Linked DNA regions of Homo sapiens: all the other regions are linked to region 3. The links are contacts of gene promoters, found by promoter capture Hi-C in human tissues and cell types (Jung and others, 2019). All regions are on one chromosome and are shown on one strand. The core of a region is centred on a gene start or on the middle of the fragment in contact, and the rest is flanking DNA. Distances in the headings are between cores, read along the strand shown. Region 1 holds the start of ZNF527 (zinc finger protein 527). Region 2 has its middle 7.7 kb from the start of ZNF181. Region 3 holds the start of OVOL3 (ovo like zinc finger 3).

Evidence for each region. Contacts are between HindIII fragments. The study calls those that stand out against the background at their distance.
Region 1: a contact is called between the fragment with the promoter of ZNF527 here and the fragment with the promoter of OVOL3 in region 3, in 1 of the 25 tissues and cell types used here (dorsolateral prefrontal cortex).
Region 2: a contact is called between a fragment that was not itself captured here and the fragment with the promoter of OVOL3 in region 3, in 1 of the 25 tissues and cell types used here (bladder).

Annotation. Positions count from the first base shown.
Region 1 is chr19:37,369,804-37,372,503 of GRCh38, reverse strand. It overlaps ZNF527 (zinc finger protein 527), which reads right to left and starts at 1,405. Exons shown (of 5, transcript NM_032453.2): 1 at 1,278-1,405. RefSeq lists a silencer at 1,006-1,315 and enhancers at 1,346-1,655, 1,826-1,875, 1,896-2,035. The HindIII fragment of the contact is 11,070 bases long and covers 1-2,700 here.
Region 2 is chr19:34,725,161-34,727,955 of GRCh38, reverse strand. No RefSeq gene overlaps it. Among named protein-coding and RNA genes, the nearest start is that of ZNF181, 7.7 kb to the left of the region's middle. The HindIII fragment of the contact is 8,763 bases long and covers 1-2,795 here.
Region 3 is chr19:36,109,755-36,112,454 of GRCh38, reverse strand. OVOL3 (ovo like zinc finger 3) reads right to left here and starts at 1,312. Exons shown (of 4, transcript NM_001302757.2): 1 at 1,159-1,312; 2 at 1,022-1,086. The coding sequence starts at 1,252. It also overlaps a transcript of WDR62 not described here. RefSeq lists enhancers at 453-1,082, 1,083-1,713. The HindIII fragment of the contact is 22,945 bases long and covers 1-2,700 here.

The DNA of each region.
Region 1 (2,700 bases), core at 156-2,655, 1.3 Mb before region 3:
AAGACTCTGTCTCAAAAAAAAAAAAAAAAAAAAAAAGAAAAGAAAAGAAAAGAAAAGAAAGGGACAACTGTGGTTGACCTAGAATTCAGTATACATCACCCCCTAATTTCACCCCCTAATTCTGGACTACTTTGCACTAGGCAACTCAGTCCCTAGCAGTTATTTCCTTAGTGTAGTGCAGCTTGAAATTGTCCATAAAAACTGCAGCAGGGCGCAGCGCCTCACGCCTGTAATCCCAGCACTGTGGGAGGCTCTGGTGGGCGGATCATGAGGTCAGGAGTTGGAGACCAGCCTGGCCAAACATGGTGAAACCTCGTCTCTACTAAAAATACAAAAACTAGCTGGGCGTGGTGGTGCGCGCCTGTAATCCCAGCTACTTGGGAGGCTGAGGCAGGAGAATCACTTGAACCTGGGAGGCGGAGGTTGCAGTGAGCCGAGATCGCATCATTGCACTCCAGCCTGGGCAATAGAGTGAGACTCCATCTCAAGAGAAAAAAAAAAAAAAAAGCGAGACCTCTAGAGCTAAACTGCTTGGGTTTGAGTTCTGGTGCTGTCACTTGTTAACTGTGTGAACTTGGGTAATTCTAATATTTCTGTGCTTCATACATCAATCCCACAATCTCATATATACACACAAATTCTCACCCAATCACAAATGTATAGAGTCACACAAACACACCCATAATCTCACACAATACACAGCCACATAAGCACAAAGATAGATGGTAACATACAACTACACCAACAGAGATAAACAATCACACACAATCACACACAAAGTAGCATACCACAGAAGTCACACATCTTGTCACAATTACTGATACAAAACTATACCTGCGGAGACAGATGGTCATAGTCGCACAATCACACTTGCTGTCACACACATTCAAACGCAATTGTATCCGCAGAAACAGGTGGTCACATAACCACACACATGCATTTACACAAACACACAATGTCACACCCCAGTCTCTCATAAACACATACACAGCTACACCTGCAGAGACAGTCACACACAAACACACATATTCACAGTTTCACCCCCAGACACAGATGGTTACAGTCACACACAAGCGGGCGCACGCGCACAAACACACACACACAGTGACACAAGATCACATTCTGTCACACCCGCAGCCTGTCACATAGTTGGTAATACAGTGAAACACACACGGCCTCCCCAGCGACTCCTGCCGGGTTCCCATCCCTGGCGCGGCCGGGCCACCCGGAGCCCGCCCTTGACTTCCCGCTCCCGCCCGGGGCCCGGCCCCACTCACCTCCCGGCGCCGCGGGCTCTGCAAACGGGCCCCGCGACCGAGACCCGCGACGTCACCTCCCAGAATCCTCCGCGAGGAGGAGCGAGGCGAGGACTGAGGCATGCAGGACTCTGAGCTCTGCGAGATCTGAACCAGCGACACCGCGTTCCCCATGGACCCCGCGAACCACGAGCCCCAGAACGCTTTGCGCCACGGCCGTCATCGTTGAACTACATCTCCCAGAGAACCCCGCGGCCCCCTCCACTGCGCGCCTGCGCCACGGGGGCAGGTACCGGAGAGGGCTGTGTGCGGTCGTAGGCTCTCCAGTGACCTTGAGCTGCTGTGTTGGGGAAAGCGGCCAGGCTGCGCGCGGGGCTGACTGGTTGAATGCTTGGGTGTGGTGGTTCGTGTGTGACTGTTGCTGCACACCTTTATGCTTGCCGACGAAAGGAGCGGCGGATTTTGTCAGTGCAGGGAGCTTCTGTATTTTAAATCACGTCCCGTGATTGTGGGTAGCTGAATGTGAAAGTGATTGTGGATGAAAGAGACTGTGGCTGACATTGGGGGTGACCGTTTCTGTTACTGTGAGGATACCACTGATCCGATGTGTATCTGACTGTCTCCTGGTCTTACTGTTCCTTCACCCCCATCTCCTGCCATGGGCGGGGTCTGTGGTATCTTTTATTGAGGCAATCTCGGCGCTCACTGCAACCTCCGCCTCCCGGGTTCAAGCGATTCTCTTGCCTCAGCCTCCTGAGGAGCTGGGATTACAGGCACCTGCCACCACGCCCAGCTAATTTTTGTATTTTTAGTAGGGATGGGGTTTCACCATGTTGGCCAGGATGGTCTTCATCTCCTGAACTTGTGATCCACCTGCCTCGGCCTCCCCAAGTGCTGGGGTTACAGGCATGAGCCATCGCACCCGGCCTATTTTATTATTATTATTATTTCTCAATTGGTCAAAATAATATATTTAACATTTTAATATTATTAAACATACAAAAGGCCACACTTTGGCCCTCCTCTAGTCAAGCAGTTTCCTTCCTGGTGAAAGTCCATAGGCAGAAACATGCCTGCAAAGATCTCACAACCTTCTTTCAGACCATGCTCTGGGTATCCAAATCCCCAGGATTTCCTGTTCAAATGGACTCCAGCCTGCTTCCAGAGCCTGTATCTCCTCTGTGTCCAAAGACCCTTCCCTTGATCTGTCTTCCAAAGGTGGAATGTGCTGCCTATCCACAAAATGTGGCCAAATGAGAGCAATTTGGTAAGGCTAGACAGAGCTTAGATATGCAAGCTGGAGTGTCCACATGTGGGAATAGAAGACCTCTTACGATGTGGGACAAGGATGGCAGTGGGAACAGAAGGGGACTGGCTGGGGACCTCCATCTGTACTGTTGACCCAGGTCTCTACATGTCAATGACAGGCTCATTTATGTATAAA
Region 2 (2,795 bases), core at 202-2,701, 1.4 Mb after region 3:
GAGAAGACCTTTCCCCTAGAAGTGCTGGTTCTTAGGTGTTAGCCCCTGAATGAATAGATGTGGATCAGATTTGAGCCCAACCTACAGGAGGGGTCAAGTCCTATCAGGCCCACAGATTGAGTGTTCACTATCTAGCCAAGACCAGCTTATATCAGCTGAAACACCAGCTGTTGTAACCGAGTGAGTTGTAGAGAAACGCCACACTCTGAGACTAATTCAGGAGTCCTTTTATTGCTGGTGACCGAGAGATGGCTAGTGCTCAAAATTCTCTCAGCCCTAAAGAAGGGGCTAGATTTTCTTTTATACTTTGGTTTAGAAAGGGGAGGGGGAGCCTAGCTGAAGCAATTTTACAGAAGTAAAACAGGCAAAAAAGTTAAAAGGACAAATGGTTACAGGAAAGAAAAATAGTTCCAGATGCAAGGGCTTTAAATCTATCAAAGGGTGATAGACACAGGTGCTTTAGGTACCATCAACAGACACAGACACGGGGGCTTTGGGTACTATCAACCAGGTGAATTCCTGGGAACTGTGGATATAGCTTGCCACAGTATCTTATCAGTAATTGCATTCTTTGATGTGCTGGGAGTCAGCTTGCACAAGTTAAGTCCTTGAGGAAGGGGGGTGGGTAAGGGGCTGCAAGTGAAGGAGCCAAAATGGAGTCTGTCCCGCTCTCTCAGCTAAGGGAGAATCAATTTCAGGTTAAAACAAGGTAGGATATCACATTTCCCACTTGTGTTTTGGGGGAATCAAATCATTGATTACTCAGTTTTAACAAGGGGGTTATATTGGGCTTTAAGATACATAAGCTTGACAGAAGCTGTGCATTGCTTTACAAAGTTAAGAAACCAATTTAATATACAAGGCTCGAAGACTAAGCCTAACAATAGGAGGAGGAGGAGGGGTCCAGCTAACCCAGTGATTAGAGTAGTTAGCCATGGATTCCAGTTAAACATGCTTTGGTACCAGGGGGGTGTTATTTTCCCGCTCCTGCTGGTGTCTATCTAGATTCTCTTGAACTTTTTGGAGAGTATCTTTTATGACCCCAGACTGACTGGCACAGAAGCAACAACTCTCTCCCAGAGCTGTGCATAACCCTCCTTGAGAGACAAATAGCAGATATAAGCCTCAGCGGTTTTGAAGAGCTACTTTAGCTAGAGACTCTACTTGGGTATGGAGTATATCTATGGTTGATTGGAGATGGCTTAAATCAGCATCTACTTGTTGAGATAGGGACATTAGTCCAGTTTCTCCCTGAATGAAGGCAGCCATGCTGATGGCTACCAACCCAGCTGTGCTTAGGCCGGCCAGGAGGGGTACAAGGAGTAGGGCGGCTCGGCAAAACCTGGTATGCAATTCAGGGGGAGTGATGAGAAGTTGTCCTTCTGTCCCACTGTATACGTAGACCTGGGGGAGCACATGAACCAACACACACAAGAGAGGTCCTGGTTCAGTCCCATTGATGCAGCGAGTGAGACCTGAAGTGCAGGCTAACCAGGTATTGTTAGGTGCCTGGTAGGAGACTGAGGTGCTTAAGGAAGTAAGTAAAGACTGATAACAGGTAGCCTGAAAGGGAGAAGCAGATAAATTATATCCAGTGCTAATTAGACAAGAAGCATTCCCGGACACGTCTCCTAGTGTGAGGGCACAGGGGCATGTATGACAAGAAAGAGAGTCAATATTAAGCATGGCTTCTACTCCTAATCCAACATAATAAGGGGGTTTGGCCTTTAGGCACAACCAACAATCTCAGGCTAGTTTAGGCTGGGTGAGATTGAGGAGGTGATGTACCCTGCCCAGAATGGACATCAGGCTGGGTTGGAGGTGTTGTTGTTGCAGCTGAGGTTTAGGAACCAGGAAAGGCGGCGGGACAGTTAAGTTGACACTGTCTGGGTATTTTTGGAACACAGGGTCACCTAAATCAGTTAAAGGCCCGATTGGCTTAGGAGGGCTCCATGGGACCAGGATTTTTTTTTTTTTGGATGGTGAACATAGTTCCAACATCAAATCCTGGGATATAAAGCCTTAATCCCAAGACATGCCATAATTCCATTGAGCTAAATTAGGATTATGAACAGTTATAGTAAGGGGATTACAATTTCTCTTAGTCCACAGTTTAGGACAGGAAGCACAAGCTATGGAAAGGGTTGAAGATCGGGTTGATCCCCCAGAGTAGGTGGCCAAAGTTACACATGTCCAGTCAGGGCAGAAAAACTGGTAAGAATCTCAACAACTAGAGTTAGGGTGATTTCGAGGACAGAGGTAAAAGTCAACATTCTGGAGTCCTTTTTCTGCACCTTTGGAGCTCCCACATCCTGTCTGGCTTCCGGAGTGTCCAAACCCTGCAGCAAGGTCAACGTTCCCTGCTCCTATGATCGGCAGATTGTGTTGCTCTTCGAGAGTATGGGCAGGCTCTGGGAACAGAGCACATAAATCACTGCAAAAAAGACTTCCTCAGAGGTTCCTGCCTTCCAGGTGGTGTTTGCAAACACAGTCCTGTCGTGAAAGAAGTAAGGAGAAAAGAGTAGGAAGGAGCAGAGGGCATGACAGGTGGAAACAAAAGAGATAAAGAATTAATCTAATGGCTTCACTCAACTTAGGCGCAGTTTTAAGGGGCTTGTCCCAGGCTTGGGGACCCATGTTTCTTGCTGGGCTTTGTTGGTCTTCTTGATGCGAGAGTGATGAATCCAGCCGGAATGCTGTCTACTTTCAGAGCTGTTGGCGTGGTGAGGATGACAGTATGAGGTCCTTTCCAGGCAGGAGTGAGTCCTTCCTTCTGGAACTTTTTAACATACTCC
Region 3 (2,700 bases), core at 63-2,562:
TCCGCCTCCCGGGTTCAAGCGATTCTAGTGCCTCAGCCTCCCCACGATTACACGATTGTAGGCATGCGCCACATGCCCAGTTAATTTTTTTATTTTTTGTAGAGATGGGGTTTCACCATGTTGGCCAGGCTGGTCTTGAATTCCTGACCTCAAGCAATCCACCCACCTTGGCCTCACAAAGTGCTGGGATTACAGGCATGAGCCACTATGCCCGGTCTATTTTTCTAATTTTATTGTTTTTTTTGAGGGGGGATGGAGTCTAGATCTGTTTCCCAGGCTGGAGTGCAGTGGCGCAGACTCGGCTCACTGCATCCTCTGCCCTGCCTCCTAGGTTCAACTGATTCTCCTGCCTCAGCCTCCTGAGGAGCTGGGATTACAGGCACGTGCCACCATGTCTGGCTAATGTTTGTAATTTTAGTAGAGACAAGGTTTCAACATGTTGGCCAGCCTGGTCTCGAACTCATGACCTCAAGTGATTCACCCGCCTCGGCCTCCCAAAGTGCTGGAATTACAGGCTGACTAATTTTATTGTCTATACATGCAGCCCCAACCAGAATATAAGCTCCATAAAATTGTGGATTTTTGTCTTATTCCCGCTGAATATAACAGCCCATGCCTAGAACAGTGCCTTGCTTTCATGAATATATTACATTCCGGCTGGCGCTTTCCTTCCTCCAATGCATGCACAGCTGAAAAAGCCCTTATCTCCCATCGCACTCCTGTTGCCTTGTCCCATGTTCTGACATAAAGCGGATCATCCACATGTGGGGATGAATCTTGTGCCCCGCTGGAAGAGATCCCTGTGGCTGCCGGCCCTGGTGCCTGGGGTGAGACCTAACAGTAGAGAGCTCACTACTAGGAAAGGAGAGGCATTCCCAACACAGAGAAGTAGGGGCGGACAGGTCCCGAGGCTGGAGGGCGTGTGCAGATGGGTCGGGGGAGCAAGGGGCTGTCAGCTTCATTAAGGCTGAGAGCAGGCAGGAGCGAAACAGCTGGCTTTGCTAGCCAGTTACACACTCACCGCTGTCCACGGATCCCTGACACTGGACGACTGTTGTGCCGGTGGCCCCCCCAGGCTGCTGCAGTCTGAGGAGAAAAGCCAGATGGTGACACTGCGTCTCTCCTGCCCCTTACCTCCAGGCACAGTGAGGGGCCCACCTGGGATATAGGCATCTCCCCGGAGCTGGTCAGGCAGATGGCCCCAGTTGGGGGGCTGTGGACGCCGACTCCTGACCAGGAAGGCGCGGGGCATGCCCTCCGGAAGGCTCTCCACACACAGGGGCTGCTTCCACCTGCTGTCAGACCTCAGCCCCAGGATGACTATCCCTGGTGGGAAAGGAGGGGAAGCCTCTGAGGAACCTCATTCTCTTCATGCAAATTTCCTGGCTGGCCCTGGGAGTGGACTAAGCTGGCTCAGGTTACCCCTGCCTGGGGACCTGCCCATCTTCTCCCAGGTTTTGGAGGGAACCATCCAGCCTCCAGGGGTGGACAAGCACTAGGACCACCAAGCAGAGCCAGGCAAGGGGAGATGGGCCTGGGGAGCTTTTGAGGATAGGAAGAAGAAACAAGGCCCCAGGGGGACTGTCTCCCAGGGGTTGAGGGTCTGTTTGCCAGGCAAATCAGTCACCAGGGGACATCCAGCAGCCTGCCTGGTTATTCAAATCACAGCAGCTGTCTGAGGACACTGAAGGGGCCCCCTGCTGTGATTGCCCTGCTCTGTAGGGTGCAGGGAGGACAGCAGATCTGGATAAATCAGGGCAAAATGAGGATCCAGGCTGTGCATCCTCAGGTAGGATGCCCCACCTCTCTGATCTTCAGATTCCCAGGGCTAACATTCAGCCAGAAGCACTGTTCAGGTGTAGCAGGCACTAAAATACTAGTTTGTTAATAATCTAGCCCCTAGTTACTGCCTGGGACAACACTCTTCCTCCCTCCCACAGTCTGGAAAGTAAAAGGGGGTCTCCTATTTTTTTTTCTTTTTTTGAGACGGAGTTTCACTCTTGTTGCCCAGGCTGGAGTGCAGTGGCACCATCTTGGCTCACTGGAACCTCCACCTCCCGGGTTCAAACGATTCTCCTGCCTCAGCCTCCTGAGTAGCTGGGACTACAGGCATGCACCACCACACCGGGCTAATTTTTGTATTTTTGGTAGAGACAGAGTTTCACCATGTTGGCCAGGCTAGTCTTGAACTCCTGACGTCAAGTGATCCGCCTGCCTTGGCCTCCCAAAGTGCTGGGATTACAGGCATGAGCCACCGCACCTGGCCCAAAGGGGGTCTCTTGACACAGCCAGGGGCTCCCAGGACCCTACCCCGGCACACTGGCCAAGCTGTTTTACACTTGATTCTTAGCCAGAAGACTAAGAAGCAATCCAAGCTCTGTTTTTTAATTTTTTTTTTTTGAGGCGGAGTTTTGCTCGTTGCCCAGGCTGGAGTGCAATGGCGTGATCTTGGCTCCTCTATGACCTCCGCCTCCTGGGTTCAAGTGAGTCTCCTGCCTCAGCCTTCCAAGTAGCTGGGATTACAGGGGCACACCACTGCACCCAGCTGATTTTTTGTGTTTTTTGTAGAGATGGGGTTTCACCATGTTGGCCAGGCTGGTCTCAAACTCCTAAATGCAGGTGATCCGCCCGGCTCAGCCTCCCAAAGTGCTGGGATTACAGGCGTGAGCCACCGCGCCCAACCTGTTTTTATTTTTTTTG